Regions from separate parts of the Homo sapiens genome. Here all the other regions are linked to region 5. Evidence: promoter capture Hi-C in 16 types of primary human blood cells and fetal thymus (Javierre and others, 2016). All regions are on one chromosome and are shown on one strand. The core of a region is centred on a gene start or on the middle of the fragment in contact, and the rest is flanking DNA. Distances in the headings are between cores, read along the strand shown.

The links. Contacts are between HindIII fragments. The CHiCAGO score rates a contact against its expected background, and 5 or more counts as called.
Region 1: the fragment with the promoter of WDR87 here is called in contact with the fragment with the promoter of PPP1R14A in region 5 in 3 of 17 cell types (naive CD4 T cells, M0 macrophages and non-activated CD4 T cells); the score reaches 5.8 in naive CD4 T cells.
Region 2: a contact is called between a fragment that was not itself captured here and the fragment with the promoter of PPP1R14A in region 5, in 2 of 17 cell types (naive CD8 T cells and monocytes). The highest score is 5.2, in naive CD8 T cells.
Region 3: a fragment that was not itself captured here is called in contact with the fragment with the promoter of PPP1R14A in region 5 in 6 of 17 cell types (naive B cells, non-activated CD4 T cells, naive CD4 T cells and 3 more); the score reaches 8.6 in naive B cells.
Region 4: a contact is called between the fragment with the promoter of MAP4K1 here and the fragment with the promoter of PPP1R14A in region 5, in 1 of 17 cell types (neutrophils). The highest score is 6.6, in neutrophils.

The regions. Positions count from the first base shown.
Region 1 is chr19:37,903,617-37,909,005 of GRCh38, reverse strand. It overlaps WDR87 (WD repeat domain 87), which reads left to right and starts at 2,412. Exons shown (of 6, transcript NM_001291088.2): 1 at 2,412-2,507. It overlaps SIPA1L3 (signal induced proliferation associated 1 like 3), which reads right to left and starts at 1,798. Exons shown (of 22, transcript NM_015073.3): 1 at 1,648-1,798. RefSeq lists an enhancer at 1,087-1,146 and a silencer at 1,447-1,686. The HindIII fragment of the contact is 21,411 bases long and covers 1-5,389 here.
Region 2 is chr19:37,950,128-37,955,586 of GRCh38, reverse strand. The region is part of intron 1 of SIPA1L3 (signal induced proliferation associated 1 like 3); the gene reads right to left. Among named protein-coding and RNA genes, the nearest start is that of SIPA1L3, 46 kb to the right of the region's middle. The HindIII fragment of the contact is 1,843 bases long and covers 1,604-3,446 here.
Region 3 is chr19:37,885,636-37,891,358 of GRCh38, reverse strand. It overlaps WDR87 (WD repeat domain 87), which reads left to right. Exons shown (of 6, transcript NM_001291088.2): 6 at 1,083-5,723. All of the region lies in intron 4 of LOC105372395 (a long non-coding RNA gene), which reads right to left. Among named protein-coding and RNA genes, the nearest start is that of WDR87, 18 kb to the left of the region's middle. The HindIII fragment of the contact is 9,115 bases long and covers 1-5,723 here.
Region 4 is chr19:38,614,037-38,619,232 of GRCh38, reverse strand. It overlaps MAP4K1 (mitogen-activated protein kinase kinase kinase kinase 1), which reads left to right and starts at 1,280. Exons shown (of 31, transcript NM_001042600.3): 1 at 1,280-1,436; 2 at 1,608-1,665; 3 at 1,789-1,879; 4 at 2,974-3,038; 5 at 4,788-4,843; 6 at 4,941-4,988; 7 at 5,148-5,190. The coding sequence starts at 1,338. It overlaps EIF3K (eukaryotic translation initiation factor 3 subunit K), which reads right to left and starts at 45. Exons shown (of 8, transcript NM_013234.4): 1 at 1-45. RefSeq lists an enhancer at 707-756. The HindIII fragment of the contact is 13,708 bases long and covers 278-5,196 here.
Region 5 is chr19:38,252,393-38,257,623 of GRCh38, reverse strand. PPP1R14A (protein phosphatase 1 regulatory inhibitor subunit 14A) reads left to right here and starts at 1,250. Exons shown (of 4, transcript NM_033256.3): 1 at 1,250-1,485; 2 at 4,650-4,730. The coding sequence starts at 1,285. RefSeq lists a silencer at 1,271-1,458. The HindIII fragment of the contact is 11,548 bases long and covers 1-5,152 here.

The DNA of each region.
Region 1 (5,389 bases), core at 1,163-3,662, 350 kb after region 5:
AGGTTGGACATGCTGAGTTTATGGTGCCCAAGAAACAGCCACTTCTTTGAGCCACAGCATCAAAGAAGCACAGGCTCCACATCTGGAGCTGGAGTGCAGGGGACTCAGTGGCTTTGGGACACAAAGGCAAAAGCTGGCAGCACCAGGACAATAATTAAAGCACTGGAGTGAACATACTGGCTCTGTGGGGAGGGGTGTGTGAGCAGGGGACTGCTGATGGCAGGTCAGACCCATTTCTTCTTAGGCCTTTCTACTATAGTGTGTTCCATAATTTAATCTTTGGTAAGTAAAATTTGGGAGGGAGGGGGAAGATAAAAAAACACTAACTTTGTGCTCACTCTGCCATGTAGGTACAAACAGAAGCAAAAAGGGCCTATTAAAAAAAAAAACAGCAAGATACATTTAATCATTTAATAAGCACTTACTGTGTGCCGGGCCTTGTGCAAAGCACTAAACATGAATTATCTCCTGGAACCATCCAAACAATCCTGGCACAAAAGTCCTATGACTACCATTCCACAGATGGGACACTGAGGATGGGAGCAAATGTGTGGGGGAGCTCAGGGCTGTCATGTCACAGCCCACAGTCAGGCAGTCTCTGGGCCAGATGGAGAATATTGAAGAACAATTATAATACATAAGAGCTGCTACTTAGTGAGAGATGGCGCTGGACTAGAAATACAATCTCAGCAAATCCTTACAACCCTTTGAGAGTGATCTTGTTATTATCCCATTTTGTAAATGAGGAACCTGAGGTAGTAGGAAGGGAAGTCAACTGGACCAGTTCTGAATCTGGCCCTCGGGGGTGACCAATACTACGGCCAGAGCCCCACCCTCAGAGGGTCTCTGGGCCACTAGGAAAACGCTGAATAAATGGTACCATTTACTGAGCGTTATATGCCAGCTGCTGTGCTAAGCACTTTACACATGGTATTCTCACTGCATCCTGAAAACAACTCGACGAAGTGGTTGCTATTTAAATCCCCATTTTATAGATAGGGAAACCAAGGCACAGAGAGGTGAAGCCAGTTGCCCAAAGTCACACAGCTGGTAAATGTTCAAATTTGAACCTGGGGTCTCTCTGCCTTCCAAACCAACGCTCTTAACAAAATAATCTCGGTTAACAGCAGCTAGCCTGCATTGGGTGCTAACTAAGGACTCACCTCTTTACATGCACACGCTCAACTAATCCTCACCCTATGCAATCGATAACATCTTCACCTCATTTTTCGGAGAGCTAACAATAACCCAAATACGTAGTAAGTGCCTCCTATGTGCCAAATGTTTTATTATATTATCTCAACAGAGTCTCCGCCAAGATGCTCTCCTACTCCGTTTTACTGCAGGGGAAATTGAGGTTCGGCGCGGTTTTCCCAGATCGCGGCTCCCGAGTGGCACAGCCGGGACGCGAATCCACCGCTCCCCGCCTCCAAGCTCTTCACCACAGCGCCGGGGTGCACGCCTGGAAAGTTGAGCCATGCGGGCACGAGTCCGGCTGGGTCCGGAGGGCGCGAGTCCCGGCGCCGCCGCCCCCCACGGCCAGTACCCACACCCGGCCGTCCGCCCGCGCTGACCCTCGGGGTCCGGGCAGCCACCGATTCCCCGCCACCCTTGCGCGAGGCCGATCCTGCACCCGGAGCCACGTACCTGGACGCCCCGGCTGCCCGCCTCGCGGGCCCCACGATCGCGGCGTCCAGCTCCGCGCCGCTCGCTGGAGACGCCGCCAGCTCCGGTGGCCCGAGTGACTTCCAGGCTGCCCACTTCCAAGCCGCTTCGCGCGAGTCCTCCTGGGAACTGTAGTTTCGCCCTAGCCGGCCGCGAACTCAAAAAGAGAATGGCGCGCGGGGGCTGCCGGGAGCCGTAGGCGCACCGCCGCGCTGCCTCCTAGGAACGGTAGTCCGCTGGTCGCCTTCGTGCAGCTCCAGTCTGTAGAGCACTTCCGCAGCCCCGAGGGGCGTGAGGGAGGGAGGTGTGTCTCCTGCAGACTACAGCTCGAGAGCCGCGCTCTTCGCCCCGCCGGGGCGGTTTCTCCTTTCTCCTGGCCCCGTCTACCTCCTCCCTTCATTCGGCGGAACCTCTCCCTCACTCTCTGCCAGGCTCGAGTCACTTACCCCTAGGACGCTAGCCCGGGGGAAACGGGGGAAGCGGAGCAGTGCGCTAGACCCCCAGCGGAGGGGGCGGTGGAGGAGGGCGTAGATGCACGCCCGCGCACGCGCGGTCGTCGGCAGACCCCGGCCTAAATTGCCGCGGGACCCCGCGGAGAGGATTTTTTTTTTTTTTCTTTCGAGAGCGCGCGCGCGTTCTCGCGCCGGGCGCGCGCCCATGCGCACGCGCGTTCAGACCCCTGGCCTCGGGAAGTCCGCCGGCTGCGGGGTTGGGGGCCAACCGTTCTGTGGGCGGAGTCCTCTCGCAACATCCGCCAGGTAGCTTCTTAGTTGCTGCCCCTAGCTCTAGGAGCTCCTGAGTGCACACGCCGTACCCGTCCCTTGTCGGGAATCCTGTCGCAGGTAACAGGCGCAGCCAATGCTTTGAGATAGAGACGCCCTGCCTTCCCTGCCACGTGCAGGAGGCCCGAGGGTGAGGGGCCCCAGGTGTAGTCGCCTGTCCCCGGCGTAGGCGGCTCCAGAGCTCTGCCTTCGACGGGAGCCACAAGACCCAGGGGCTGCCTAGGGGCCTTGTTATCTTGCATTCTTTTGTTGATCGCACATTCCTGAGGGTAACTAGTGTTTGTAGAGTACCTACACCTTGGGAAATTTTGTCCAAATTTAATCCACCTGGTGACATAACCAAGCAGCGGAATACCCCGCAACACACACTCCTTTTTTAAGGTATATTGCCACTCCTCCATAAGAGTTACCGAGGGAATTGACTGGAATTGCAAGGTCCTCTGGTGGAGAAGCCGGAGTCAATACCCTTTCCGCCTCAGCCTGCCTTCTAGGAAGATGTTCACTAACACTTGAAGCTGGGAAGCATATGTTTCTTCCTGGGAGAGCACATTTTTCCACTCATTCAACAAAAATGGATTAACCACCTATTCCATGTCAGGTTGGGTGATTATGGAGACACAAGAGAAATCCAGACAGACTGGACTCCTACCTTCAGGGAGTTTTCAGTCCAGTAGGGATATCAGGCCACCACCAGACTACAACAATGTAGAGCAATACTAGCTAAGAGAAATATACCCTGCACTTTGAGCCACCGAGGCAGGAGGATCACTTAAGGCCAGGAGTTGGAGACTGGCCGGGTAACATAGCAAGACCCTATCTCTACTAAAACTAAAAAACTAGCTAGGCGTGGTGGCATGTGGCCATAGTCCCAGCTATTTAAGAGGCTGAGTATCGCTTAAGCCCAGGAGTTTGAGACTGCAGTGAACCATGATTGCACCACTGCCCTCCAGCTTGGGCGACAAAGCAGAACCCTGTCTCTTTAAAAAAAAAAAAAATTATATATGTGTGTGTTTTTATGTGTAATGCAAGCCACATATGCAATTTTAATTTTGACATAAACAGGTAAAATTCATTTTATTTATCATTATTATTTACTTTTTTTTTTCTTGCTATGTTGCCCAGGCTGGTATTGAACTCCTGGCCTCAAGACATGTTCCTACCTCAGCCTCGCAAAGTGCTGGGATTATAGGCGTGAGCCATCTCACCCAGCTATGAAATTAATTTTAATATTTTATTTAACCCAAATATATCCAAAATATTATTCCAAGTTAGGTTAATGGAAAAATGTTTTCATTGCTTCAGTTCTACTTTTTTTTTTTTTTTTTTTGGAGACGGAGTCCCACTCTGTCGCCAGGCTGGAGTGCAGTGGCGCCACCTCGGCTCCCTGCAACCTCTGACTCCCTGGTTCAAGTGACTCTCCTGCCTCAGCCTCCCAAGTAGCTGGGATTACAGGCAGGCGCCATCACACCCAGCTAATTTTTGTATTTTTAGTAGAGACTGGGTTTCACCATGTTAGCCAGGATGGTCTCGATCTCCTGACGTGATCTGCCAGCCTCGGCCTCCCAAAATGCTGGGATTACAGGCGTGAGCCACCATGCCTGGCCTCAGTTCTACAATTTAAGTTAATTAAAATCAAATAAAATTAAAATGTTATGAGGCACTAACAAAGATACTCATTTGCGGCATTAGCTGCAGTAGCAAAAGGTTGGAAACTACCGAATGTCCATTAATAGAAATTTGAATAAATAAATGATAGTTCAGCCACACGGTGGAATACCCTGCAGCTAGTAACTGTTGGGAAATGAGTTATATGTATTAATATGAATTAGTCTTAAAGGTATATTAAGAGAAAAGTGAATAACAGTGTATATAGTATACTATCACTTGCATAAGAAAAATATTTTTGGCCAGGCACAGTGGCTCACGCCTGTAATCCCAGCACTTTGGGAGGTGGGCGGATCACTTGAGGTCAGGAGTTTGAGACCAGCCTGGCCAAAATGGCGAAACCACATCTCTGCTAAAAATACAAAAAATTCGCTGGGTGTGGTGGCGCACGCCTGTAATCCCAGCTACTAGGGAGGCTGAGGCTCAAGAATCACTTGAACTCAGGAGGCAGAAGTTGCAGTGAGCCAAGATCGCGCCACTGCACTCCAGCCTGGGCGACAGACAGAGACTCCATCTCAAAAAAAAAAAAAAAGCACACACACACACAAAAGAAAGACACAACCAGAGTTACTTCTGGGAAGGGGAAACAGAAGGACAGCTGGTCAGGTGTGAAAAGGTGACTTTTTTTCCCTTACCTGCTCCTTAGTACATTTTCAATATTTTACCATGTCCGTTTTTAAAAGTTGTTTAATGGCCGGGCGCAGTGGCTCATGCCTGTAATCCCACCACTTTGGGAGGCCGAGGCGGGTGGATCACGAGGTCACGAGATTGAGACCATCGAGGCTAACATGGTGAAACCCCGTCTCTATTAAAAATACAAAAAATTAGCCAGGCATGGTGGCGGGCGCCTGTAGCTACTCGGGAGGCTGAGGCAGGAAAACGGCGTGAACCTGGGAGGCGGAGCTTGTAGTGAGCGGAGATGGCGCCACTGCACTCTAGCCTGGGCGACAGAGTGAGACTCCGACTCAAAACAAAACAAAACAAAAAACAAAAAAGGTTGTTTAATTACAGGGAGGATAATAGCTAAGTCGTTAGAATAATTGTAAGAATTAAACCAAATTGGCTGGGTGTGGTGGCTGACACCTGTAGTAATCCCAACACTTTGGGAGGCTGAGGCAAGTGGATTCTTTGAGGCCAGGAGTTTGAGACCAGCCTGGGCAACATGGTGAAACCCCATCTCTACAAAAAGTACAAAAATTAGCCAGGTGTGGTAGCACTAGCCTGTAGTCCCAACTACTCAGGAGGCTAAGGCAGAAGGATCACTTGAGCCGGAGTGG
Region 2 (5,459 bases), core at 1,276-3,775, 300 kb after region 5:
AAATCTACAGAGACAAAGAGCAGGTTAGTGGTAGCCTGGGCCTAGGCGTGGAAGCAAGGACTGCCTGCAAAGAGGTACAAGATGGATATCTTTTGGGGTGGTGGTAATATTCTAAAACTGGATTGTGGTGATAGTTATGCAGCTTCACAAATTTACCAAAAACAGCTGAATTGCATACTCTTTTTTTTTTTTTTTGAGACAGAGTTTTGCTCTTGTTGCCCAGGCTGGAATGCAATGGTGCGATCTTGGCTCACGGCAACCTCCGCCTCCTAGGTTCAAGCGATTCTCCTGCCTCAGCCTCCTGAGTAGCGGGGATTACAGGCATGTGCCAACACACCTGGCTAATTTTGTATTTTTAGTAGAGACGGGGTTTCTCCATGTTGGTCAGGCTGGTCTCAAACTCTCGACCTCAGGTGATCTACCCACCTCGGCCTGCCAAAGTGCTAGGATTACAGGTGTGAGCCACCATGCCTGGCCTTTTTTTTTTTTTTTTTTTTTGAGAGACAGCATCTCACTCTGTCACCCAGGCTGGAGTGCAGTGGTGTGATCCCGGCTCACTGCAACCCCCGCCTCCTGTGTTCAAGCAATCCTCGTGCTTCAGCTACCCAAGTACCTGGGACTACAGGCATGCACCACAATGCCTGGCTAATTTTTGTATTTTTAGTAGAGACAGGGTTTCACCATGTTGTCCTTGCTGGTCTCGAACTCCTGGCCTCAAGAGATCTGCCTGCCTTGGCCTCCCAAAGTACTGGGATTACAGGCATAAGCCACTGCGCCCAGCCTGAATTGCATATTCTGAATGGGTGACTTTTATGGCACGTGTGTATATATACACACATACAGGCGGTGGTGGTGACAACTTCTGTAACCTAATCACCTCTGGACTTCCCACTCCATATGAAACCGCCTGGTTCTTAAAGCCGAGAGGCTTCACGCTTGGATGTGCTTATCACTAGGGGTTTACGGAAACTTAACAGATACAGGAGTATCTTGAAAACAGTGTTTTCAAGGGAAGCAATGTTCAGATCCTCAACATCCACAAGTTCCTCTTCCTAAAACTGATCTGGCTGCAAACCAGCCTGTCTCCTTCCCCACTGCCCACCCGCTGTTGTGCACTCCCCCATTTTCCCAAGGAGCACGACCGAGAGGTGTGTAAACCTCCAGGACTCCAAACACACAACATCAATATTGGTTTCGGGGAAGTAGCCTTTAGTGAACAATAAAAAGCTACTTAAACCCCCAGACTTGCCTGTCTTTCCCTGACTTAAGTATCTTTCTGCCAAACATGAAACTGGGCTTTAAAAATAGGATTTTCTGAACCATAGTAGGATCATGAATGTCAAAGCAGTATAGGTTAGTGGCTCTGATTTGTTCAAAGGGAACATTTTTCAGGACCACTGAATTTTTCTAGATCCACCAAGAAAAAATTCCCAGGGAAAAATTTACATGATTGCTTTCAGCTTCTGTGTACTTTACTCAATAAGGTAGTAAAAACTTTTTTTTATCTAACCACATCATAAAATATTTCAATTACATTCGACCTTCAAAATGTGTACTATTTTCTTCTCCCACAAATAAGACAAATTTAAAGTTACCATAAGCTTATTTTAGATGTTAGCTTTACAGTGTACAAGGAGGTATACAGGGGCTTATCAAAATTCTTTTGGGGAGGATGCAAGCAAAAATGTTTAACGATGATCAGATTAAATTTGAATAATCCTGGCTAACCCATGCCCTAATTCCTGGTGGCTGAGCTGTAGGAACTCAGCATGGGGCACAAATTCTGGGGAAAGCAAGATTTCAGACAATGGCAAAATCACACGTGCCTGGGGGTACAGCCAGCAGCGAGGAGTCAGTCAGGCCTCACAGCCCCTTCTTTCCCAGCTTTCAGGGGCCTCAAAAGCAAAGCTGCTCAAGGGAAGATTTGAAAAGGGATTTTCTGAACCGATAGGTCAATTCAAAAGATTTCCTTTCATTCGAGTAAAAGGGCTTTCGCCCCTCCTTCACCTCAAGTAAGTTTGGCACGCATGCACACACATACACACACACACACATGAGGAATGCATTCACCTTAAATTACCTTGAACTAAGTCAGTGATTACCCTCTTGAATATTTCCCACTATTAGCAAAATTCCTCCTAAGAGCAGACTTTGTTCCGAATTGGTCATGAACTCTATCCAGCTCTTTCCAAAGTTACCTGGGGAGGTACACACTGGGTCAACCATTATCCTAATAAAGTGCACAGATCTGACCAAATTCCTCCTGAAACATGATGCGATACGCCAGGTTTAGCGGCCAGTGTGCAAGGCTGGGTCATGGGCAGGAAAGGAATGTTTTTTTCCAAAGAGGAAAAAAACTGCAGACTTAAACTCTACTTTCATTCATTTGAGAAGGATCCTGGGCCCCCTCTATGGATAGGATTGTAAGCTGAGAATGCGGGTTCACGCCATTCTCCTGCCTCAGCCTCCTGAGTAGCTGGGACTACAGGCCTCCGCCACCACGCCTGGCTAATTGTTTTTGTATTTTTAGTACAGACGGAGTTTCACCATGTTAGCCAGGATCTCCCGACCTTGTAATCCACCCACCTCGGCCTCCCAAAGTGCTGGGATTACAGGCGTGAGCCACCGTGCCCGGCCAAGAATCCTCTGTGCATACACACACTCTGAAGTGTATGCAATCACCCAGGATGGTGTTCAAAATGCAGATACCCAGGCCTCAGGCCCCAAACCAGAATCTCCAGCAATGTGGAACAGAGCTGCTGTATTTTAACAAGTTCCCCAGGCCAGTCTGTTGATCACATAAAGCTAAGAACCGCCACTCAGGAAAGTCTAGCAAAGTGGTTCTCAAATATCTGATTCATACAAATCATTTCTGGAGAATTATTTATTTATTTTTATATTTTATTTTATTTTTGAGACAGAGTCTCACTCTGTTCCTCAGGCTGGAGTGCAATGGCACGATCTTGGCTCACTGCAACCTTCACCACCCGGGTTCAAGGAATTCTCCTGCCTCAGCCCCCTGAGTAGCTGGGATTACAGGTGCCTGCCACCACACCTGGCTAGTTTTTGCATTTTTAGTAAAGACAGGGTTTCACCATGTTGGCCAGGCTGGTTTTGAACTCCTGGCCTCAAGTGATCTACCCACCTCGGCATCCCAAAGTGCTAGGATTACAGGCATGAGCCACTGCGCCTGGCAGAGAATTTTTTAAATTTAAATATAGATTCTAGGGTCCACTAAAATTACTGTATTACTTAGGACTCTTTCGGTTGCAAGTGGCAGAGACCCAATTCAAACTGACTTGAGGGGAAAAAGGGCCAATGTTTTGGCTCCCATTACTGAGAAGTTCAGTTACCCAAAGAATTTGTCTGTAATGAATTATTTCCATCTCCTTTCCACTCGACCCTCTGAGCAAAGATGGTCCCCAGGCCCCCAGCAGCATTAAGCTTACACTCTACAACTTGGCACCTCCATAGGAAGAAAGCTCCTCTTCTTTCCTGGGAGCTCCAGAGAAAGACCTGTCTTAATTCTGATTGGACTGACTCACCTCCTCCCTTCCTTGAACCAATCCCTATGGCAGGAAGATAAGGAATGACCTGAACTGCCCAGGCTACTCCTAAGGCATTTCTAAGTCCAAACCAGGTAGACCAGGACATTCCACAACAGTGGGGCTTTTTTTTTTTTTTTTTTTTTTTGAGACAGTCTTGCTCTGTCGCCAGGCTGGAGTGCAGTGGTGTGATCTCGGCTCACTGCAGCCTCCGCCTCCTGGGTTCAAGTGATTCCCCTGCCTCAGCCTCCCGAGTAGCTGGGACTACAGGCGCCCGCCACCATGCCCGGCTAATTTTTTGCATTTTAGTAGAGACGGGGTTTCACTGTGTTGGCCAGGATAGTCTCTATTTCCTGACCTCGTGATCCGCCCACCTCAGCCTCCCAAAGTGCTGGGATTACAGGTGTGAGCCGCTGCGCCTGGCCCGGGGCTTTTTTTAAGTTGTTTTTTTTCCCACTTCTGTTTCTAAAACTTCCTTCTAGAAAATGTGAAAAATATACAAAAGTTTAAAGAGGAAGATGAAAATAATCTGTAAAGAGGAAGATGAAAATAATCTGTAATCATCCTACCAACTAAAATTTTTAGATCTTCACACTCAAAGCTGTGCACATGAGCACTGGTCTCCTGATTAGAATCCTATTCTGTACAAAGGATGACACTGTGGTTGAGTCTTCATGACAATTCTCCCAAAACTGAAGATAAACATTGTAGTCATTTTCATGTTTGTTCAGCCAACACTGGTTTGCTTCCCTTTTCCAGTTAATTTGCTCTTGTTTGTAACCCCTCAAGATGTGGGTATTTCCTAAGAAGAATCTCTGGATCACAGTACAATTATAAAAATCAGAAAGTGACAGCCTTACGGTACTGTGATCTAACGGACAGACACAATTCCAGTTTCAAGGGCATATTCCAGATTCCCTGCCATATCCCCAGTGCCTGGGGTAAATAATAAATTGCACACAGCGGTCTCAGTAAGTGAACGGACGGGATGGAGGAAGAGCAGTTCCCAACAGGAAAACCCCAAAAGAATGGTGAATGGTTGTAGGGCGGCCAAACCAGCAGATGATCTTCCTCTCCACCTGCGGGAGCAGATGCTCCAGGAGTGAAGCCAGAGAATCCCAACTGTTACCAAGATTCCCCAGGTGATGCCAACCCACAGCCAGGTTTAAGAATCACCGTCTGGGGAATAGATATAACCAGACACAAACACAGCATTTCCCCAGAAGCTTCTTCCAGATCTGCCTTTCACAAGAGAAGAAGGAAAAGTGCCGCATGCCGGGGTACTGGGGACAGGCGGATCAGACCTGGGAGGGCTCGCAGCGGAGGGAGCAGCAGACGGGCTTGTGGGGAGCAAGCGCCAGTCTCGGCACAGAAGGGCCCCGCGCAGCCTTCATGACAGAGGCGAGGCAGGCCCTAGAACCAAGCCCGCCATCAGCTCGCGTTCAAGTGTGATCAGGAGCTGGGGCTGCACTGAGCAGGGAACTTGGGATCTCTTGAATTTCCAGTCGCCCCAAATCTCAGACGACAAACGTACATCCAATGATCGAGCCCTGTAAGCTCTTTCTTGTCCTTACTACGCAGATGAAGAAACCAAAGCTGTTACTCACTTGGGCAAGGTCACAGAGCTGAGATCAATCCTACGCTCTTTATTCCCAAGTCCTATCTTGAACTGTAGAGCACCATCCGGCCTCAGGAAGGAAAAGTAAGGATGACAACGATGATGATGAAAACTAATACTTTGAGTGCTTACTGTGTATCAGGCTCAGACTGAGTCCTTTACCTAAGTTTGTCTAATGCTCTGAACCACACCCTGAAGTAAAAGGCTTTAGCATCCTCATTTTACAGGTGAGAAAACTGCAGCCCCAAGAGTGAGGTGATGAGTCCAAGGTCACACAGCTAGCAAGTGGCAGAGCT
Region 3 (5,723 bases), core at 1,081-3,580, 370 kb after region 5:
AACCCCGTCTCTACTAAAAATACAAAAATTAGCCAGGCATGATGGTGGGTGCCTGTAATCCCAGCTATTTGGGAGGCTGAGGTGGGAGAATCACTTGAACCCAGGAGGTGGAGGTTGCAATGAGCAGAGATGGTGCCACTGCACTCCAGCCTGGGTGACAGAGCGAAACTCCATCTCAAAAAAAAAAAAAAAGAGAGATACCAGGTGGGAAGAGAGATAAGTGGAAAGATCTCATCATAGAAAAGACACTCTCGGGTGAGGGACTAAGGGAGGGCTAGCATTAGGAGAAATACCTAATGTAGATGATGCTGGGTTGATGGGTGCAGCAAACCACCATGGCACCTGTATACCTATGTAACAAACCTGCACGTTTTGCACATGTATCCCAGAACTTAAAGTATAATTTTTTAAAAAAATGTATAGATAAGGAAATTATAGTGTATTCATAAACTGAAATACTACTGTGATAAAAAAGAGTGATACATGCAACAACATGGAAGAATCTCAAAAACTATTGAAAGAAAGCAAACACAAAAGAGCACATTTTTTAATGATTCTATTTATTTGGAATCCTAAAAAAGGCAAATGAATCTACAGTCACAGAAAGCAGATCAGTGGTTGCCTAGGGCCAGAGGTTAAGGGTAGATAGATGTTGACTGGGACACTATATAGGAGGGAATTTAGGGGGATAATAGAAATGCCTTATATCCTGATTGTGATTGCAGTAATTACAAAAGTGTATACATTTTTCAAACTCATCAAACTGTTTGCTTAAAATGGGTATATCCTGTTTAAATTATACCTCAGTAAAATTGATTTTTATGAAAGCAATGAAAAAAAAAGACTTTCTAAGGAAGGATCCACTCAAACTCAGGAAGACTCTAAGGCCTAGCTCTCTAGGATTTGGCAGGAGTAGGGGGCTAGGAATAAAGCAAAGAGAATGCTTTTTTTTTTTAAGGCCTCAGTTCTCTCTGTTGTTACTTCTTATATGACAGTTCTTCTTAGCTCACACCTAATATTGGGAAGGGTTTCATGTCGCTTCCCATACTTTGCTTACCTCCATCTCTCGATTTTTACTGCAGGCCAAAAATGGTTGCGGGGTCTCAAGAAGACGAAAGAGAGAGACTCTAAACAGATGAGCACAGAGCCAGGCCTCTTAGAGGATGAAAGTGGGACTGAGGCCGCACCAATTGAGATGGAGGAAGCATCCGTCTATTCCCAATGGTCTTCAAGCACCAGTGTAATAAAGCTCTCAAAAGATGTTGATTCTCAAGAGAAAGATATCTCGAAGGATCACATTGCATTGACCCTGAAGAGGCTGCAGAAAATACGTGACAAAAGAGACAAGAAAGCAACAGCTCAGAAACTCAAAAAGAAGCACAAAAAGAAGGGAAAAGAAGCCAAAGTTATAAATGAGGAAACTACACCTCCTGTAATGGAACAGCCAGTTACTAAAAAGGTTAAAATCCAAGGGCGGGGAGCCTCTGGAATATCTGGCCGCAGGTCAACCGCTGGAGATGGCTCATCATGGAGGGACGATCTATGTCGTCTTATGGCCCTGAGGATATCTGGTTCCCAAACAAAAATGTCAGAAAACCTAAACGCTGAGCTAGTGACATTTGCTCAGGAGATGCTGGTAGATAGGCACCCCAGCTGGGAACTCTTTCAGGAGATCTGCCCCCTATTGAAGAAAGAAAGTAAGGTTCTGCTTGAGGACCTTGATTGGGATGTAGTCCCGCCAGAGAAGAAACCAATTTTTATCCAGGAAGGAGCAATTAGAGAGGACATGATACAAGGTGTGACCCAAGAGGTGATCAGACACAAGGAAGTGATGCCAAGGGAAGAAGAACAAGCACAAAAGAAAGCAAGAGACATGCTGGGCTTGGAGGAAACCCAAGTGATTTTGAAAAAGGGCAAGAAAGTTATTTTTTTAGAACCAGGTAATGTAACCATGGGAAAAGAAATATCAAAGAAAGAAGAGAAGAAAACCTTTCAGAAGTCACCTAAGCAAGGGAGGAAAGCTGTCCAGAAGGAAAGAAAAGTAGGAAAAATAAAGAGGGAAATGACCAAAGAAGAGAGGGATATGAGTGAGGAAGTGGAGGAAATGGCCACACTAGAGGAGAAAGTGGTCAAACAAGAAGGAAAACTGGTTATGATTGAGAGGACACCATCTTGGCAGGACTGGAAAAAGGCCTGGGATGAGTGGAAACAGGTCCATGGTGAGACAAGGAAATCCTGGAAGGCATGGAAGGAAGAATGGGAGAAGAGGCTTCTTCAGGAAGAGGAGAAACTACATCAGGCTGGAGAGAAGCTATCCCCGGAGGAGGAAATGCTTCAGGAGGACAAGAAGCTGAAATGGGAGGAGTGGAAACAAGTCTGGGAAAATATGTTATCATCTAAGTCCAAGGAGCAACAGTACAAGGATGAGGAAGAAGTGACTTTGGAGGAAGAAGTGTCTCGGGAGGGGGAAGAAAAAGAACAGCAGGTCACAGAAGAGCAGAGACACATCCAAGAAGAACACAAATGGGCCAGAATACACAGGAAACGAGCCCGAGCTGAAAAAAAACGAGCCCAAGAAGAGAGGAAATTAGCACAAGAAGAAGAGAAACTTGCACAAGAAGAGAGACAGTTGGCCCAGGAAGAGAGAAAACTGGCCCAGGCATACGTGAAAATAACCCAGGATGACAGGGAAATGGCCCAGGCAGAGGGTAAGTTTGCCCAGAAAGAGGAAACACTGGCCCAAAGAGGGGAGAAGCTAAGCCAGGAGGCGGAGAAATTGGCCCAGAAAAGGAAGAAACTGGCCAAGAAATGGGAGAAAGTGGCTAGAGAAGAAGAGAAACTAGCAAAGAAAGGAGGGAAACTGGCTGAGGTGAAAAACATATTGGCCCAGAAAGTGGAAGAACTGCCCCAGAGGGAACAAAATCTGGACTGGCAAGAAAAGGAGCTGGCCCAGGAATTGGAGGAACTGGAATGGGACATGGAAGAACTGTCTTGGAAAGAAGAGGAACTGAATCAGGAAGAGGGGAAACTGGTTGAGGAAAAGAAGAAACTGGCTGAGGAAGAGGAGGCATTGGCCTGGCAAAGGGAGAAACTGTCTGAAGAAGAGACAAAACTGGCCCAGGAAGAAGAGTTGCTGATCCAGGAAAAGGAGAAACTGGCCCAGCACAAGGAAAAAATGCCTGAGGAAGAGGAAAGACTGGGACGGAAAAGGGAGCAATTGATTGAGAAGAAGATGAAACTGGCCCAAAAAAGGGAAAGATGGATCAACAGCATGGAAGAACTCACAAAGAACAAGATGATACTGTACCAGAAGAAGAATCTGGCTCAGGAAAAGAAGAATCTGGCCCAGGAGAAGGAAAAATTGGCTCAGAGGAAAGAGAACCTACTCTATAATAAAGAAAGACTCACCCACAGCAAAAAGCAATTAGTGCAAGTAAAGAACAAATTGGGAATGTTCAACAAGATACTGGCTCAGGTAGAGGAGAAGCTGACACAGGAAAAGGAGACTGTGATCAAGAAGAAGGAGAAACTGGCTGAAACAGAGAAAAAATTGGTCCAAGTAGAGGATAGTTTGGCCAAAAAACAGGAGAAATTGGCCCAGGAAAAAATGAAATTAGCTCTGGAGAAGGCAATGGTCCAAGGAAAGAAACGGCTCAGAGGAGAGTTGGATATTGCTAAGGAAGAAAAGGCATTGAACCTGGAAATGAAAAGACTGGCTGAGGAGAAGATGAGACTGGTTGAGGGAAAAGAAACACTGTCTAAGGGAGAGACTCCAGAAACTTCTAGACAAAGGAAAATGACTCAAGTTGAACAAGAACTATTTGAGAGAAAATTGTCACTAGAGGAGAAGATACTGCTACATGAAGACAGGATATTGGCCATGGAGGAAAGCGAAATTGCCAAAGGAAAACTGGAATTTACTAGAGGACAGAGAATATTTGTCCAGGGGCAAAGAAAGTTAGCCAAGGCTTCAAGGAAGTTGATTAAAAAAAGGGAGAGCCTTTCCAAGGAACCAGCAAAACTGAACAAAATCTTAAAGGCACTTCAAAAACTAACCAGGGATGAAAGGAAACTAACACAGGAAGAAATAAAAATGACAAAGATGAAGAGGGCACTCTTTGTTAAGGAGCGCAGGTTGAGTATAGAACAGAGTAAGCTGGATATCAAAGAGTGGGATTTTTCTGAAAAACGATCAGAACTGACTAAAGATGAGAAGAAACTGGCTCGGAAGCAGAGAAAACTGGCCAACAAAATGAGAAGAATGATAAACAAAGAAGAAAAAATGACTGAGGAAGAGAGCAAATTGGCCAGAAAGCATTCAGAAGTCATACTGGATGATGAAGAGGAAGGAGGAATAGAAGAAGAAGAGGTAATCCCATTCCTTAAACGAAGGTGGAGAAAGAGGAAAGAGGCCAAGAGAGGTGACAAACCAAAAGAAAAGTTTTCCAGTCAAGTGGATGAAGTGGAAAGTGAAGAGCATTTTTCTGAAGAAATGGAAAGCCTGTTAGATGAACTAGAAAAGCAAGAGAGTTTGTCTTCTGAGGAGGAGGAGGAAAGGGAGGAAGAAGAGGAAAGGGAGGAGGAGGAGGAAAGGGAGGAGGAGGAGGAAAGGAAGGAGGAGGAGGAAGGGGAGGAGAAGCAAGTGGAGAAAGAAGAGGAGGAGAAGAAGAAGAAGAAAAAGGAAAAGAAGAAGGAGGAGGTTCAGGAGAAGGAAGAAGTGTTTGAGGAGAAAGAAGAAATTATGAGTGAGGAAGAGACAGAAAGTTTGAGTGACGAGGAAGAGGAAGAGGAGAGCTGCTCATTGGAAGAAGAGGTGGACAGGGAAAAAGAGATCTTAAAAAAAGAAAAACAATTTAAGTTACAAGAACAAAGAAGAAAGAGCCTAAGAGGAAGGGAAAGAGTCCTTTCCATTTTAAGAGGAGTTCCTCATGGCAAAGGCAGGGCTATAAGACTAGGAGTTCTAAAAAGCCCTTTGAAGAAACTGATGTCAACAGCTCTGGAGATGAAAGAGAAAACACCAGTGCCAGTGCCGGAGAAACAAATATCCTGGGAAGATAAAAAGGCCACAGTAGTTGAAATACCCAGGAAATTCTTAGGGACAATGGATAAAGAAAGAGAAGTGATGGGAAAATATGAACCCATACCTCCACATGTTTTGGGTACAGTTTTGGAGTCCCAAGCACAGGACTTAAAGACCCCATTTATGTCCCACATATTAAGGAGGACCGTGGAAGCTGAGGAACTCCAACACAAACCACTAGGTGCCTGGTGGAAGTGGTTTTTGCAGCATCCACCTCTGATGGGACAGACTGAGGTACAGTTACCTCTCTCCCAAATCCCAGCTAAGGAACAACATGCAGACGTAAGCCTCTCAGATGTAGAGTGGATCCGCCATGTCCTAGAACGAATGGAAGCGGGAGAACAGCTTTCCAGGGATGGTTTCCATAGACTGTGCCAGCTGCTCAAAGACCTTGCCTCAAAGGGAAACTTAGAATGGCTGCATCTGGCCAAACATGAAGCCATTGTGTACCGTCACAGACAGGCCCTGGAGTCACAAGACACAAGGATCTCAAGTAGACAGTCCATGAGTCCAAAATACCTGAAAGTGATTCCTCCTATAAAAGCAAAGGAAAAGGAGAGCTGGCCAAAACCTTTGGCTGTCCCCACACAAAAGTCCCCATTAGCTACCAAGAGGATTCCAGACCCAAGGGCTAAAAATTGGC
Region 4 (5,196 bases), core at 31-2,530, 360 kb before region 5:
AACACTGACCCGGCACGGCGTCCTCAAGGACGGGAACAGGAAGAGGTGGTGGAAACGGAAACGACGTCGTTGTTGTCGCTCCAGCTCCTTGGGTGCGGTAAAGGGAAAGGCTCTAGCAGCAGCCGCCACGCTTTCCGGCTGCCACGTGACTTCTTCCTCGCAGGCGCAATTGGCGCGTGCGCATTCGCGCCACTCAAGCTGGACAGACAGCGTGAGAAAAATCTTACTGGATCCCAGTGCGCAGGCGCCTCTCGTGGCGAGGGGGCGGGGCTAAGCTTTTCCCGGGCCTCACAGACCCAGTTCCAGTGCCGGTAGCGCGGGAGCGTGCGCGCGCGAACTCACCGGGAAGCACCCGGAGCTCTGGCGGCGTGCGCGCGCGTTGTATTGCGCGCGGCCATGAGGCCACGGAGCTCTGCGGGAATGCACGCAGCAGCCTTACGTTTAGGCCATGGCCAAGTTCCGAGGGAGGTGTTCTGAGGTCCCTCTTGCCACAGGCCTGGGCGCCTGGTGCAGGATCCTGAGCTCTCCAGTTTCAAGTCTCAGCCCTTGGTCCCCAGCTCCAGGAGGAGGGTCCCACAAAGCTACTGTGCTCTGCCGGGCAGGGGCTGGGGTGAGGGCTCCTGGACTTCGCCGGATCGCGCCCCGTCTCCATTAGGTTCCGGTCTTGGAGCTGAGGGCGAGCGTCCCATTTGTACTGCCATGAATTATATATTATGTATAGGTTTTGTACACTGCAGGCCTACAAAATGCAGTTATGTGCCATGCATGTGGAGGTATATGTCCTGGGTACATCCACGTGTGTACTGTGCACACAGGTATCCAGGCAGATGCACGTCTACACGCCTGCGCAGTGCAGAGGAGGTAACCCAAGTGCATGTATGTGACAGGTGAACAGGCATGTACACTGCATAGCCATCCCTTTGCAGACCTGCCGCCTTCGGGTTGTGGCCAAACCTTCAAGCACCCAGCAGAGGTTTAGACACTACCTAGGAGACGGGGGCGGGGGTTCTAAGGCACCCCCCTCCAACCCAGTTACGATTAAGATCATTTGCATCACATTTACATCCAGCCCTGGGCCTTGGAGGTTGAGGGTGGTCCCTTGGGTCCCAAGACAAGCTGCCCCTCAGAGGCTCTCAGAGCCCAGGGGACGGGGGGGTGGAGCCCGTTGCACAGTCGTGCAGTGCAGCTGGGGCAGGAAGCGAGAGTGAGGAGGGGGGAGGCCACAGCCCGCGGAGGCAAGGCGGGTGCAGGGCTTCTGGGGACGGAGGGAGGTGCCAGAAGTTGAGCCCTGAGGCCCTGCTGGCCCCTGGGCGCAGGCCCAGCTCAGGCCCCCAGGGATGGACGTCGTGGACCCTGACATTTTCAATAGAGACCCCCGGGACCACTATGACCTGCTACAGCGGCTGGGTGGCGGCACGTATGGGGAAGTCTTTAAGGTGAGGAAGCCCCTCTGTCCCCAACACCCTACAACCAGTGACCTTTAAGGCAAGCCCTCGGCAGGGAGGAGGCTGCAAGAGGGGGTCCCAGTTCTTGACCTTGACTCAGGGATGCTGTGGAGGGACTCTGGCAAATGGAGCCTGCCTGACTGCCAACTTCCCCTTTGCAAGGCTCGAGACAAGGTGTCAGGGGACCTGGTGGCACTGAAGATGGTGAAGATGGAGCCTGGTGAGGAGGGAACATGGAGCTCCTTCCCCACATCCCCACCTTCGCCTCCTGGGACACTGGGATCACCTCCCCTGTAGCTCTCTCCCCATGCGAGCTGCCTTTTCTCTCCCGCCCTCCTCACAGATGATGATGTCTCCACCCTTCAGAAGGAAATCCTCATATTGAAAACTTGCCGGCACGCCAACATCGTGGCCTACCATGGGAGTTATCTCTGGTGATGAACCTCAGACCCACCCTGGCACCCAGCCCAGCCCCTAACCCGGAGTCCCCATTTCTTGATGGGGGTACCCTCAGTTCTTTTTTTTTCTTTTCTTTTTCTTTTTTGAGATGGAGTCTTGTTCTGTTGCCAGGCTGGAGTGCAGTGGCATGATCTCAGCTCACTGCAACCTCTGCCTCCTGGGTTCAAGCAATTCTCTGCCTCAGACTCCCGAGTAGCTGGGATTACAGGCGCTCACCACCCTGCCCGGCAAATTTTTGTATTTTTAGTAGAGATGGGGTTTCACCATCTTGGCCAGGCTGGTCTTGAACTCCTGACCTTGTGATCCACTCGCCTCGGCCTCCGAAAGTGCTGGGATTACAGGTGTGATCCACCGCGCCTGGTCTTGGCACCCTCAGTTCTAACCTTGAACTTCCATTTCTCACCATAACCCGACCTCCCATCCTGGACCCCCATTTTTGACTGGGCTAACCCTACCATGATCCTCACTCCTAAGTCCCACTTTTCTGACCAGAGCAGCCTCTAATCTAATCTCCAATCTAAAATTCCCATTTCTGACCAAGAGTACCCCAAATTGATCTCTTCATAGTAACTGAATTTGAAATCAACTCCCTTGAAACGAAGCTCTCACCATTCTGCTCTTTGGCTCACCCAGTTTCACTCTCTGCTCCTTTAATATAAACTCCTAAATTCCCTGATCCCCAAATTAATATTCCAGATGCCCCAATAATGACCTCTGCTCCCCAGAACAGGTGCCCTGGGCCCCTCTGTCCCCTCCAAATCTCCACAACCCGTGAGATCTCTGCCCTGCCTCCTAGGTTGGCGTGGGACGGCAGTGGGGTCCCGCCCAAAGGCCTAGGTTTGAGTTGACTTGCCCCGGAACTCACATTTCCTCTCTGAGCCTTAACTTCCTTGTCTGTAAAATGGGAATGAAACAACCTCACTCTGGTAGACAAGGAGAGGTGGAGTGATGAGAGCTGTTACGTTAAAGTTCTTATTGAACTAGAACAAGACAGAAGCAAACCAGGGGCTTTCCTGCAAATAATAATGTATTTACTGCTATTATTATTCTTACTCTTGAACCACTGCAGGTTGCAGAAACTCTGGATCTGCATGGAATTCTGTGGGGCTGGTTCTCTCCAGGACATCTACCAAGGTTAGAGAAAGGACAACGGGACCCAAGCACCCCTCCCTATCCCCACCCCCCAACCCCGACCCAAATTCACCTCTTCCGTCTCTGTGTGTGTATCTCACAGGAACTGTCTTTCTGGGCCATATTTCAAACTCCTGGGCTGAGCTGATCCTCTTGCCTTCAGCTGTCGAAGTGCTGAAACTACGGGCTTGAGCCACTGTGCCTGGCTTTTTTTTTTTTTTTTTTTAATATAACTGCTGGGCCTGGTGTGGTGGCTCACGCCTGTAATCCCAGCACTTTGGGAAGCCGAGGTGGGCGGATCACCTGAGGTCAGGAGTTCAAGACCAGCTTGGCCAACATGGTGAAACCCCGCCTCTACTAAAAATACAAAAAATTAGCCGGGCGTGGTGGCAGACGCCTGTAATCCCAGCTACTCGGGAGGCTGAGGCAGGAGAATCGTTTGATTCTGGGAGGCGGAAAACCTCTGATTCCTTCCAGCCCTAGACCTCAAATGTTAGAAAAGGAAGGACGTCATTGAGAAGTCCTCAGGAGGGAAACTGAGGCCCAAAGAGAGGAAGTGAATCCCACAGCTGGTCTGTCAGACCTGATGTCTGACGGCCTCTCTCTGTCTGTCTGTCTCTCTGTCTCTCTGCCTGTGTGTTGTTCTTACCTCGTTACCCTCTGGGTCTCTCTCTAAATCTGTCTGTCTCCCCATATTTTGGCCTCTGACCTCTGTCTTTGTCTTCTGTCTCATTTTTTTGTTTTTTTCAATCCTGTTCCTTTTGTATGTCTCATGTATGATCTGTCTCCGTTTCTCTGTCTCTCTCTGTCTCTGTGCCTTTCCTTATTTTGCAAAGTCACATGACGCCCCTGCTCAGAGCCCTCCTACAGCTTCCATTTCTCTCGGAGGAGAAGCCCAGACTCCTCATCAGGGTCCACCCCATGCTGGCCAATCTCACCTCCTCCCACTTTCCTCCTCCCCCTCCACTCCACCCCACCCCCTTTGCTGCTTTCCAGACCCACCAGGGACTATCCCACCTGGGGCCCTGCACTTGCTGTGGCTGGTCCCACTCAGAGTGGGAGCCCTCATGTCTTCACCCACTGTCACCTTCAGAGAGCAGCCCTGACTGACCACCTCTGTGAAATGTCATAGCTCCTCCTACGCGCACCTTTCTTGCTTTATGTTTCTTCTTGCTGTCTATCAGCGTCTGAGGAACTATATCATATTCTACTTATTTATCTTGCTTACTTTCTTTCTTTCCTTCTTTCCTTTTTTTTTTTTTTTTTTTTTTTTTTTGAGACAGAGCCTCCTTCTATTGCCCAGGCTGGAGTGCAGTGGTACGATCTCGGCTCATTGCAACCTCCACCTCCTGGGTTCAAACGATTCTCCTGCCTCAGCCTCCTGAGTACTTGGGATTACAGGCATGCACCACTATGCCTGGCTAATTTTTGTATTTTTTAGTAGAGATGGGGTTTCACCATGTTGGCCAGGCTGGTCTCGGACTCCTGACCTCAAGTGATCCACCCACCTTGGCCTCCCAAAGTGCTGGGATTATAGGCATGAGCCACTGCGCCAGGCCTATTGGCCTCTTTTATTTGCATTGCTGCCTCTTTCTGTCACTGACCACCCCACCATCTCCCCCTCCCACTGGTCCTATCCTATTTCCCCTCTCCCTATGGCACCCTCTTAGCTGGTGTGGGGGGGCAGGACTCCCCAGCCCAGGTTCCCTGGCTCCCATCCAATGCCTGGCCTGGCCGGGGTGACCTTTGCAGTGACAGGCTCCCTGTCAGAGCTCCAGATTAGCTATGTCTGCCGGGAAGTGCTCCAGGTAAGGAGAGGCCTGGGGATTCTGGGGATGGGAGGGGAGGGTGGCCCCACTCCAGCCCCCAAACACTCACTGTCCCCTTGTCCACCCTTCTCCCCAGGGACTGGCCTATTTGCACTCACAGAAGAAGATACACAGGGACATCAAGGTGGTCTGGGGGTGTAGGGGTGCTGTTGGGGGGTGGGGCCCAGGAGATGGGAGTGGCATTTCAGGGGCTCAGGGATCAGGGTAGTTTGAGCTGGCGGAGTGGGCTAGCACTGGGCTGGGGAGAGTCTCTGCAGCCTCCCATATCCCCTCTCATTCCCAGGGAGCTAACATCCTCATCAATGATGCTGGGGAGGTCAGATTGGGTGAGT
Region 5 (5,231 bases), core at 1-2,500:
CGATTCTCCTGCCTCAGCCTTCCGAGTAGCTGGGATTACAGGCATGTGCCACCAGGCCCAGCTAATTTTTGTATTTTTAGTAGAGATGGAGTTTCACCATGTTGGCCAGGCTGGTCTTGAACTCCTGACCTCGTGATCCACCCTCCTTGGCCTCCCAAAGTTCTGGGATTACAGGAGTGAGCCACTGCGCCCAGCCACATTTAAATTTTAGAGTATAATTATTGCTGCTTATAATTAGAAGTGAGAAGACTGTTTTGAAGTAAGGGACTTCCCTGGCCACCCTCGCTAAAATTGCAACCTTACCCTCACTCCATTTCTCCTTCTCTGCTTTATATTTCTCCAAAGCACTTATATGATAATAAACTGTATAATACCGTACTTACTGTGTTTCTCATGTATCCCGGCTACAACTGTCAACTGCGTGGGACTGGTTTTGTCTGTTTTGTTCCCTGCTCTATCCCTGGAGCGTAAAGCAGTGTCTGGTATAGAGTGGATACTTAATAGATATTCGTTGAACCGGGCCAGTGGCGGTGGCTCACGCCTGTAATCCCAGCACTTTGGGAGGCGGAGGCAGGCAGATCACTTGAGGTCAGGAGTTCGAGGCCAGCCTGGCCAACATGGCGAAATCCCGTCTCTACTAAAAATACAAAAATTAGCCGGGTGTTGTGGTGCATCCCTGTAATCCCAGCTACTTCGGAGGCTGAGGCAGGAGAATCGCTTGAACCTGGGAGGCGGACGTTGCGGTGAGCCGAGATCGCGCCATTGTACTCCAGCCTGGGCGACAAAGAGAGACATCGACTCAAAAAAAAAAAAATTCGTTGAACGGAATGAGTGAACAAACAAATGGATGGATGAGTGAATGAATGAACGAAGGAACAAGTGACCGCTCGACCTTCTACAGCGACAGCGGCGCAGGCGCTCCCGCACCAACAGCCCCCCACCCCGCCACCGCCAGAGGGCGCAGACAGGCCGGGTCCCGAGTGTCTGTCCCAGGCCCCCGCCCCACAGGATCCCGGCCCGGGAGCCCCCGATGCAGGGACCCGCCCGGGACTCTGGGTCCCCGCCCATACCTCAACTTCGCACGACTGCGTGCCTCAAGCCGACGCAGCGGCCTACTCTCGCACTGCAGACGGGGAAACTGAGGCCTGAGGCGGCCGGGGTGGGGCAGACCTCCCGGCGAGCCCGAGCCCCCGCCCCCGGCTAGCCCCGCCCTGGCCCGTAAGAAGCACCCGGGGCGCGAGGCGAAGGCGCACAGCGCGGGGCCAGGCTGGGTCCAGCAGCGCGATGGCAGCTCAGCGGCTGGGCAAGCGCGTGCTGAGCAAGCTGCAGTCTCCATCGCGGGCCCGCGGGCCAGGGGGCAGTCCCGGGGGGCTGCAGAAGCGGCACGCGCGCGTCACCGTCAAGTATGACCGGCGGGAGCTGCAGCGGCGGCTGGACGTGGAGAAGTGGATCGACGGGCGCCTGGAGGAGCTGTACCGCGGCATGGTGAGCCCGGGGAGGGCTCGGGGGTGGTCGGGGACAGATAGAGCCCGGGCGCGGAGACCCCACGCCCTTGGGGTCTCGGTGCACACTCGCTGGTGCACGGCCAGCCTGGTCTGCACAAGAGGACGAGCGCCCCAGGGCCGGGCACTCATTGGCCTGGCCATCCGTGCTCTATGGCATTGTGCTTGTGGACACACCGAGAGCAACACACAAAGACTTGGGTCTCCAGAGATGTGTCCAAACGCCTGTGGAGGGCCAGGGGTTTAGCATGAGGAGGGAGGAGGCTAAGTTGAGCTGAAACCGCCACGTCTGGAGAAAGAGTGGGGGAAGGGGGGTGTCATAAAGCCAAACACAGACATGGTGACAGGGGAGATACAGCCACACAGAGACCCACGGCAAAGGAAGCAAAAGCAGACACAGATGTGCACAGTGAAGGAAGCTATAGCCACTCACGGACACAGCCCAGAAGTAACAGCCATGCACAAACCCACAAGGACACAAGCGGGGGCTGGGGGGGGGTCACCTACAGTTCAACATATGCTACAGTCACAGCCACCCGCAGACACAGCGGCATGGGCCACAGCCGTAGGCAGACACAGCACAACCCCACTGGAACACAAAATGACTCAAGTTACGGCCCTTCCTTATCTCCTAAAGAAAAAACTGACCACCTTCAAGCACAAGCGCTGATCCGCAGCCACTCAAAGACATAAAACAACAGAAATTGGCCCAGCACAGTGGCTCACGCATTTTGTGAGGCCGGGGCAGGAGGATTGCTTGACGTCAGGAGTTCAACACCAGCCTGGGCAACATGGGGAAAACCTGTCTCTACCAAAAATCTTAAAACTTAGCCGGGCGTGGTGGCATGCACGCACTTGTAATCTCAGCTCCTCAGGAGGCTGAGGTGGGAGGATTGCTTGAGCCTGAGAGGCCAAGGTCACAGTGAGCCAAGATTGCACCACTGCACTCCAGCCTGGGCAACAGAGCGAGACCGTGTCTCAAAAACAAACAAAACCCAACAGAATTTATAACTACACCCAGACATAAAACTGTGTAAGCACCGGGCACGGTGGCTCACGCCTGTAATCCCAGCACTTTGGGAGGCCGAGGCGGGCGGATCACCTGAGGTCAGGAGTTTGAGACCAGCCTGATCAACATGGAGAAATCCCGTCTCTACTAAAAAATACAAAATTAGCCGGGTGTGGTGGCACATGCCTGTAATCCCAGCTACTCGGGAGGAGAATCGCTTGAACCCGGGAGGAGGAGGTTGCGGTGAGCCGAGATCCCGCCATTGCCCTCCAGCCTGGGCAACAAGAGCGAAACTCCGTCTCAAAAACAAACAAACAAACAAAAAACTGTAAGCTATAGGAACAGGTGGACATACAACTGCAGAACCCACCGCTGCTCACAGGCACACAAGAGCCTAAGCCACAGCTACATGTATTGACACACACAGGTACTTCATCACTTGAGTTTCTGCTTGAAGTCACACTTTCAGTGACTTCTTTTTTCTTTTCCTTAGAGGTGGGGCCTCATTGGCCGAGCACAGTGGCTCACGCCTGTAATCCCAGAACTTTGGGAGGCCAAGGTGGGCAGATCACTTGAGGTCAGGAGTACGAGACTAGCCTGGCCAACATGGTGAAACCCTGTCTCTACTAAAATTACAAAAATTAGCCGGGCATGGTGGCAGGCAGCTGTAATCCCAGCTACTTGGGAGGCTGAGGCAGGAGAATCACTTGAACCCGGGAGGCGGAGGTTGCAGTGAGCCAAGATCGCGCCATTGTACTCCACCCTAGGTGACAGAAGGAGACTTTGTCTCAAAAAAAAGAAAAAAGAAAAAGAGATGGGGCCTCGCTATGTTGCTCAGGCTGATCTTGAACTCCTAGGCTCAAGCAATTCTCTCTTGTCGGCCTCCCAAAATGTCAGGATTACAGGCGTGAGCCACTGCGCCTGGCCTTCTGTGACTTCTGTATGCTACAGTGTACACAGGACCCACGAGTCCTCCTCTTCATGGTGCGACAATGGTGGAAGGCATGGCCCTTCTCCCATGGTGACATGCAGTCCCTCTGTTCTCAGACTCACACCTGGGCCCATACAGGTGAACCAATCTGGTTGCTAGTGGCAGGTGGCATCTATGAGGCCATTCTCAGGTGGTGGGCCCCACAGCTGACTGTGGACACATGCTGATGTGTCACACACCCAAGCCAGAGCCACACACCTCACACCTGCAGGACCACAGTCCACTATACGAAGCCACTGCACGATGCCAGGTCCCTCTGCATCCTCGGCCAGCCCCAGGCCCTTGGCATCAGGCTGTGGCCCTGGCAGAGACTCACACACCTGTGTCCTTGCTGAAGCCCCTTCACCACACATGAACCAGGACCATCCAGCCCTGAAGCCCCAGGCCTGAAGCCGACAGCCGGACTTTGGGTTGGGGAGGAAAGGATTCATAACCCCAAGGCTCTCTTGCTCCCTCGACAGCTGGGGACAGCTGGGTCCTATTCCCAGCAGGGGTACTGAGCCAGCCTGCGCTTGGGCCACTGCCTGTAGAGGCCACACTCAGCGCCCCGCTCTTAGCAGCTGAGTTGAGCCATGACTCATCCCACCCACCCACCTTGAGGGGCCTCGGTGGTCCTCCCTTCGGTCTCACCAGGCTGCATTTTGGCCCTCTGGGGGCTGGCCCAAGCCGTCCCCTCCCTTCCTGTCCCCTCCCTTCCTGTCCCCTGGGGGAAGGGGCCGCCCCAGCTGGCTGCTGGCTGCCAGCCTCTCCTCCCCTGCACCTAGTGCTAAGACTTTTCCTTGAAAGGGCAGAAGCCAGCTCCTCTCCCGAATCCCAGAATCTGACATTCCAGGACTCCACTAGGCCTGTTTTCCTCTGTGGGAACTAGAGCCAAGGCGAGAGACCCGTGCCAGCCCCGAGGCTCCCGGGGCCCATGGGCCCAGGCATCGGGCTGGTACAGGGCCCCGGGGCTCTCTCAGCCCATCTGTCACCCCTCCCCCCCAACACCCAGATGTCCCGTCTTGGCAGTGCTGTCCCGGACTGCCACATTAATGCTCCAGAACCCGCCAGCTGGGCCCTGGGGCCGGTGGGGCTCCTGCAGAGCCCTGGACAAAGGCGAGGGAGGGAGGGAAGGGGATCCTAAGCACCCCTCCCTCCCTGGCCCTAGGAGGCAGACATGCCCGATGAGATCAACATTGATGAATTGTTGGAGTTAGAGAGTGAAGAGGAGAGAAGCCGGAAAATCCAGGTAGGTGGGGGGACGTGTCCCCCAGCCTCCCACTTTGCACCTCCCTAAAAATAATAGCAATAGTTCACGTGTTTACTGAGTGCTCACTAGATGCCGGGCACTGGTGTGATGGCTTTACATGTATTCACTCACTTAACCCTCACAAAACCCTCCGAAGCAGGCGCTAGTGTGAGCTCCATTTTCCCCATGAGGAAAATGAGGCCCAGAGAGGTTGAATCCCTTGCCCAGTGTCACACAGCTCAGAAGGAGCAGAGCTGGGCATCGAACCCAGGCAGTTTGGCAGCCATGTCTTTGCTTATGGCTTATACCTTTTTAGAGGAGGGAAGTGCTGTGTGACCCTCTCGCCCTCTCTGGATCTAGTAACTCACCCCTGCCCTGAGTCGATCCACATGCCCCTTGGGCTCTGTTCCTCTCTTGAAGCTTGGTGGGCAGTCCACCCTGGAGTCTGACTTCCATTTGTCTTGCTGCTGGGGCCTTTTGGGAAAGGGAAGGGGCTGGAGG